2 separate regions of the Homo sapiens genome follow, and region 2 is linked to region 1. Evidence: promoter capture Hi-C in 16 types of primary human blood cells and fetal thymus (Javierre and others, 2016). All regions are on one chromosome and are shown on one strand. The core of a region is centred on a gene start or on the middle of the fragment in contact, and the rest is flanking DNA. Distances in the headings are between cores, read along the strand shown. Region 1 holds the start of ATP13A1 (ATPase 13A1). Region 2 holds the start of LOC105372484 (a long non-coding RNA gene).

Region 1 (3,591 bases), core at 546-3,045:
GAAAGTGGAGTTTGCAGTGAGCGGACATCGCGCCACTGCACTCCAGCCTGGGCGACAGAGTGAGACTTCATCTCGAAAAATTAAAAAAAGAATATGCAACAATATAAGCTACAAAATTTAAATATCCAATAAATTTTAAGTTTAAATAAATTTGCTGTATCAGAGGACAAAAAGAAACATAAAATAGTTACTGTTTGTCACACATACTGTTTAATCCTACTAATTGGTACTGTTAAGTAGTCCTATTGTGGTTTTGTTCAAATAGCATTTATGCAACAGTACAGTTAATAATATAGAACTATATAATTTCTTTTTTTTTTTTTTTTCAGACAGAGTCTCGCTCTGTCGCCCAGGCTGGAGTGCAGTGGCGCGATCTCGGCTCACTGCAAGCTCCGCCTCCCAGGTTCAGGCCATTCTCCTGCCTCAGCCTCCCGAGTAGCTGGGACTACAGGCGCCTGCAACCACGCCCGGCTAATTTTTTGTATTTTTAGTAGAGACGGGGTTTCACTGTGTTAGCCAGGACGGTCTCGATCTCCTGAACTCGTGATCCGCCCGCCTCGGCCTCCCAAAGTGCTGGAATTACAGGGGTGAGCCACCGCGCCCGGCCTAGAAGTATATAATTTCAAGTAAACACCAGTTTTTCATTTTTTATGTTAAAGTGGTAATTTCTTTTTTTTTTTTTTTTTTTTTTTGGAGACAGAGTCTCGCTCTGTCGCCCAGGCTGGAGGGCAGTGGCACAATCTCCGCTCACTGCAAGCTCTGCCTCTCCAGTTCGCGCCATTCTGCCTCAGGCTCCGGAGTAGCTGGGACTACAGGCGCCCGCCACCACGCCCGGAGAATTTTTTTTTTTTTTTTGTATTTTTAGTGGAGACGGGGTTTCACCGCGTTAGCCAGGATGGTCTCGATCTCCTGACCTCGGCCTCCCAAAGTGCTGGGATTACAGGCGTGAGCCACCGCGCCCGGCCTAAAGTGGTTTTTGTAATTCATTTTTCTTTTTTTTTTTTTTGAGACAGTCTTGCTCTGTTGGCCAGGCTGAAGTGCAGTGGAGCAATCTTGGCTCACTGCAACCTCCGTCTCCCGGGCTCAAGCAATTCTCCTGCCTCATCCTCCCGAGTAGCTGGGATTACAGGCATGTGCCACCACGCCCGGCTAATTTTTGTATTTTTAGTAGAGACGTGGTTTCACCATGTTGGGTCTTGAACTCCTGATCTCAGGTGATCCACCCGCCTCGCCTCCCAAAGTGTTGGGATTACAGGCGTGAGCCACCGCGCCCGGCTAGTATTTGTAATTCTTATCTATCACATTAAGGCTCTTGTCCGGTGTGGTTGTGTTCCGGGGCGGTCCCCGACCCCGCCCCTCACAAGCCCCGCCCCCCGCACCGGGCCCCGCCTCCTGAACTCCGAAGCTCCCGACCCCGCCTCCGCAGGGTCCAGGCTTCGCCCCTGGTGACAGGTGGTGCTGGTGTAGTCAAGGAGGAGGGCTCGCTTTTTTTGGTTCAGGTTGTCATGGTGGCGCCCAAGCCCGCCTTGCCGGCCTTGTCTTTTCCGGTCTCAGTCCGGCGTGGCAGCGGAGGCAGGCACCGTTAGGTCTTCCAGTCCCTCTCTGTCATGGCGACGCCCAGCCTCTTCTTCCGGCCACAGCCTGTCATGGCGGCACCCGAAGTAGTCCCTGCCGGGGCCAGCCTGTTCTGTTGCCCTGGCTCTTCCTAGTCCAGGCTGCCATGGCGGCGCTCAGGGCTTACCGGAAGTAAAACTTCGGAAGTGAGGCGTTCCTCTGCCCGGAAGTGAGCGCGGCGCTAGGAAAGATGGCGGCAGCGGCGGCGGTGGGCAACGCGGTGCCCTGCGGGGCCCGGCCTTGCGGGGTCCGGCCTGACGGGCAGCCCAAGCCCGGGCCGCAGCCGCGCGCGCTCCTTGCCGCCGGGCCGGCGCTCATAGCGAACGGTGACGAGCTGGTGGCTGCCGTGTGGCCGTACCGGCGGTTGGCGCTGTTGCGGCGCCTCACGGTGCTGCCATTCGCCGGGCTGCTTTACCCGGCCTGGTTGGGTGCCGCAGCCGCTGGCTGCTGGGGCTGGGGCAGCAGTTGGGTGCAGATCCCCGAAGCTGCGCTGCTCGTGCTTGCCACCATCTGCCTCGCGCACGCGCTCACTGTCCTCTCGGGGCATTGGTCTGTGCACGCGCATTGCGCGCTCACCTGCACCCCGGTAAGTGTGTACACGCGAGCCCGACCCCCAGCACGGTCGAGCCTCGCCGTGGGTCCCAGCTGCGGCCTTCCTGTCGGTCACCATCGCGACCTGGGCCACTCATCTGCCTGGCCTGGATTCCCAGGGGCACCCTCTACACTTTGGCGCAGGCTTAATCATGACCCCACTGCTGACTTGCTGTGCATGCCTGGTGCGGGTTATTTCCTTTTTCTGAAGTCCTCCCTGTTATGGTCATTTAGATTCAGTGATGTAATACTTGTAAAAGGCTTAGCGCAGGGCCCAGCATACGTCGCCCAGGTCAGGTAGGAGTTGTTTATACTAGTTCCCATATTAGCGACTACTCTTGTTCTGGAAACGGCCCTACCTTCCATCTCATCTGTCTCCTACCTTGGTTTTCAAAGTGTAAGGCGAGATCACTGGGATAGGTTTCCCCCATCTATGAAGCTTAGTTGGTTCTTAGACTGAACCAAGTCTTGCTGTCCAGTGCTTAGTGGTCTTCCATACTGTGATGGAAAGGAGCATGAAATGCAGTTAATTACAGTGTTGAAGAGAGGCAGAGGTGTTTATGAGCGAGTCATTTACATGATGTCTTTCCGCAAAATGAGGGTGGTGATACTGAGTTCTGTCGGGGATACAACAGCAAGCAAGGTCGCGCTCCTGACCCACAGTTTAGAGTTCTGAGTGACCAAGTGTCGTCGGAGGAGTTGGTGACTGTGAGCTTCCCTGGGCCTGAAGCAGTGACTGTGTCGTCTCTCTCTGGGCCTGCCTCAGGTGACACCAGCAGGTTTGGAGCCATGGACACTGAGGTATATCAGGAAGCTTCCCCTCTGATTCCAGGAGTGTGTTTGCCTCAAGAAGAGGAAAAGGGAACAGCATCAAGGGCTACAGAAAGACAGAAGCCCCCCACCCTGGCTGGCTCTGAATGTGGGTAGAATCCTCATTCTCCTCTCCTGAGAGACAACCTGTTCTGTCCTTCAAAAAGACTTATCTATCCCAGGGGAGGAGCTCAACGTGGTAGCTTTGAGGTAGTACAATGAAAGACACCAATGAGGGACAAAATAAAGGAGGGGTTAAGGGGACTGTGGCACCGCTCAAACTTCAGCTGCCTTTTGACCTGCAGCTAAGCAGCTTAGCTCTTAACTTCCTCTCCAGGGATGGAGAAGTGGGAGGAGCTGAACAGCCATCAGCCAGGAGAGGTGGATCTGGGTTTGATTCAGATCTCAGAAAGGGCCGCTTCTGCTCTCTGAGTTTCAGTTTCCCCCTTCTGTAAACTGAGAACCGTAACTAACAACTACTGGGTGCCATCTTGAGAAGCGGAGATGATATCTGCAGAGTGCCCGCCCTGGGGCCATCACAGCGTATAGCCTCTTGTACCTTTCTTCCGTGACGTC
Region 2 (3,276 bases), core at 757-3,256, about 39 Mb before region 1:
GACCAGTCTCTATTAGTTTCTGTGGCTGCTATAACACACTACCACAAACTGGGCAGTTTAAAACAACAGAAATTTACTCTCACAGTCCTGGAAGCCAGAAGTCTGAAATCAAGGTGTCAGCAGTACTGTGCTCTCTGACGGCTCTGGGTGGGGGTCTTTCCTTGCCTCTTCCGGCTTCTGGCGGCTCCGGGTGTTCCTTGGAGTGTGGCTGCATCACTCCAATATCAGCCTCCATCTTCACATGGACCACTCTTCTCCGTGTCAGAACTCCCTTTGCCTCCTTCATAAGGACACCTGTCATTGGAATTAGGGCACACCCAGGTTATTCAGGGTGATCTCATCACAAGATCCTTAATTATGTCTGCAAAGACCTAATAAGGTCACATTCTGAGAGTTCCGGGGTTAGGACATTGGATATATCTTTTGCAGCCTCCTTCAGTGGAACCTGCCTGATCCTGGGTGACCTCATGTGCCCATCCATTCTTGGGCCTGTCCACTGATTCCATGGTGATCAATTGTCCCTGTTTGGCCAGGCTGTCCCAGGTATGGTCTTTCACCCTGGGAAGTCCTCAGCCCCTAAGTCCCTAGAGTTCTAGGAAGTCATGCTGAGTGCTGGTCCTAGCCCTGCTCATGCCACCAGCTGTTGTACAGACTGTGACATGAAGCCAGCAGCCTTGGAGCTAATAGCAAGGCAGGTGCCCAAGTCCCTCCATCCCTGACATCTGGGTCTCTGTGACCTGGAGTTGTGTCAGAGAGGTCCAGATCCTGGCTGTGGGGCTTCTGGGATGGCACATTGTGAAAGCGGGGCCCCTGACCTCCTGCTGCTCAGCATCCATAGTGGCATGCTCCCTCCTCCGTGTAAAGGGCTGGAGTCCACACTGGTACCCCCATCAGAGTCTATGGCTGGGGAGTTCCCTGCCCTATGTGTGGGGACCTCAGATCCCAGCCTGGCAATGACCCTGGACCAACCCCTTTAGCAGTGGGTCCTGGTGGCTTTCTCAGGAGCTCTTCAGTCAGCCTGGCCTCTCAGAGGTAGACGAGGGAACACTACAAAACCTGCAGTGCTCAGAGACAGAGGCTTGAGAGAGTGTGGGGAGGTGGGCAGGATGGGCCTGCCCCGAATAGCCAGGTCCACGGCCAGCAGATGGACTCGAGAGAGAGAAGCCGACACCTGTGAGAAACGCCAGATACTGTGTGTGGTGGTTGGGAGCCAGCAGGCAGCCTGGGTGTGGACAGAGCTCCATGGTCAGACAGACCAGAATGTGTGTCTCCATGTCTTGTGTCCTGCCCTCAGTCTCCTCCCTCCCGTCACAACTTCCCATGTGGTGGCAGCAGTGCCCTTGGGTGTGTGCCCCTGTAAGGAATTGCCCTGTGCCCTGAATATCATTCCCAGCGAGCATGTTCAGTTTCTAATGAAGAGTTTTCTTTGCTTTCTTTTTTTGAGATGTGGTCTCACTGTGTTGCCCAGGCTGGCGTGCAGTGGTGCAATTGTAGCTCACTGCAGCCTCAATCTCCCAGGCTCAAGCGATCATCCCACCTTAGCTTCCTGACAGCTGGGGCTACAGGCTTGCACCACCACACCTGGATAGTTTTTTTTTTGAGATGGAGTCTCGTTCTGTCACCCAGGCTGGAGTGCAGTGGCAAGATCTCGGCTCACTACAAGCTCCGCCTCCCGGGTTCACACCATTCTCCTGCAGGCGCCCACCACCACACCTGGCTAATTTTTTCTATTTTTTAGTAGAGACGGGATTTCACCATGTTAGCCAGGATGGTCTCAATCTCCTGACCTCGTGATCTGCCCACCTCCCAAAGTGCTGGGATTACTGGTGTGAGCCACTGCGCCCAGCCTTTTTTTTTTTTTTTTGACGGAGTCTCGCTCTGTCGCCCAGGCTGGAGTGCAGTGGCACGATCTTGGCTCACTGCAACCTCCGCCTCCCGGATTCCAGTGATTCTCCTGTCTCAGCCTCCCGAGTATCTGGGATTACAGGTGCGCGCCACCTCGCCTGGCTAATTTTTTGTATTTTTAGTAGAGATGGGGTTTCACCATGTTAGCCAGGCTGGTCTCAATCTCCTGACCTCGTGATCCACCCACCTTGGCCTCCCAAAGTGTTGGGATTACAGGCATGAGTCACCACGTCCGGCCATTTTTTTTTTTTTTTTTAATAGAGACAGGGTTTCACCATACTGCCCAGGCTGGTCTCTAACTCCTGGGCTCAAGCCATCCACCCACCTTGGCTTCACAAAGTGCTGGGATTATAGGCATAAGCCACTACACCCAGCCAAGTTTTCTCTTTGATATGAGTGAATTAACAGACACCTGGTTAAAGAAAATGCTTTTACCCCAGAGCTTAAGCCTCTGATGTGGAAACTATGCTTGGTACTCTGGTATGCAGTTGACTTGGCTGTGTGTGAGAAATTATTTTATTTTTACCTAGAGATTTAAAAGAACTTGTTTTTCTCTTTTTTTTTCCTTTTTTCTTTTCTTTCTTTTTTTTTTTTTTTTTTTTTTTTTTTTTTTTTTTTTGAGACAGAGTCTTGCTCTGTCACCCAGGCTGGAGTGTAGTGGCCTGATTTTGACTTATGGCAAGCTCTGCCTCCCGGGTTCAAGCCATTCTCCTGCCTCAGCCTCCGGAGTAGCTGGGACTACAGGCGCCTGCCACCACACCCGGCTAATTTTTTGTATTTTTTTTAGTAGAGATGGGGTTTCACCGTGTTAGCCAGGATGGTCTCGATCTCTTGACCTCGTGATCCGCCCGCCTCGGCCTCCCAAAGTGCTGGAATTACAGGCGTGAGCCACCGCGCCCGGCCAAGAACTTGTTTTTCTCAATACAAATGTATTGCTTAAAAGAAACCACCTTCGGCCGGGCGCAGTGGCTTGTGCCTGTGATCCCAGCACCTTTGGGAAGCTGAGGCAGGGGGATCACTTGAGGCCAGGAGTTTGAGACCAGCCAGGCCAACAGGGTGAAACCTCATCTCTACTGAAAATACAAAAATTAGCTGGGCGTGGGGGCAGGCACCTGTAATCCCAGCTACTCGCCAGGCTGAGGCAGGAGAATTGCTTGAACCTGGGAGGCAGAGGTTGCAGTGAGCCGAGATTGTGTCACTGCACTCCAGCCTGGGCAACAGAACGAGACTCTGTGTCAAAAAAATAAATAAATAATAAAATAAAAATAAATAAATAAACCACCTTCATCCCATGCAGTGCTTTCGTGTGACCAGGGCTCAAATGACATCCTGGATGTTGCAGGGTGGGCCGACGCCTGACAGGCTGCAGGA

The links. The method cuts DNA at HindIII sites, captures the fragments that hold promoters and counts their contacts. A CHiCAGO score of 5 or more calls a contact.
Region 2: a contact is called between a fragment that was not itself captured here and the fragment with the promoter of ATP13A1 in region 1, in 1 of 17 cell types (monocytes). The highest score is 7.8, in monocytes.

The regions. Positions count from the first base shown.
Region 1 is chr19:19,661,880-19,665,470 of GRCh38, reverse strand. ATP13A1 (ATPase 13A1) reads left to right here and starts at 1,795. Exons shown (of 26, transcript NM_020410.3): 1 at 1,795-2,200. The coding sequence starts at 1,805. RefSeq lists silencers at 1,309-1,358, 1,799-2,058 and enhancers at 1,459-1,748, 2,092-2,193, 1,465-2,447, 2,579-2,628, 3,329-3,591 and 1 more. The HindIII fragment of the contact is 4,289 bases long and covers 1-2,646 here.
Region 2 is chr19:58,375,803-58,379,078 of GRCh38, reverse strand. All of the region lies in intron 1 of ZNF837 (zinc finger protein 837), which reads left to right. It overlaps LOC105372484 (a long non-coding RNA gene), which reads right to left and starts at 1,496. Exons shown (of 2, transcript XR_936130.2): 1 at 970-1,496; 2 at 54-294. The HindIII fragment of the contact is 6,480 bases long and covers 1-3,276 here.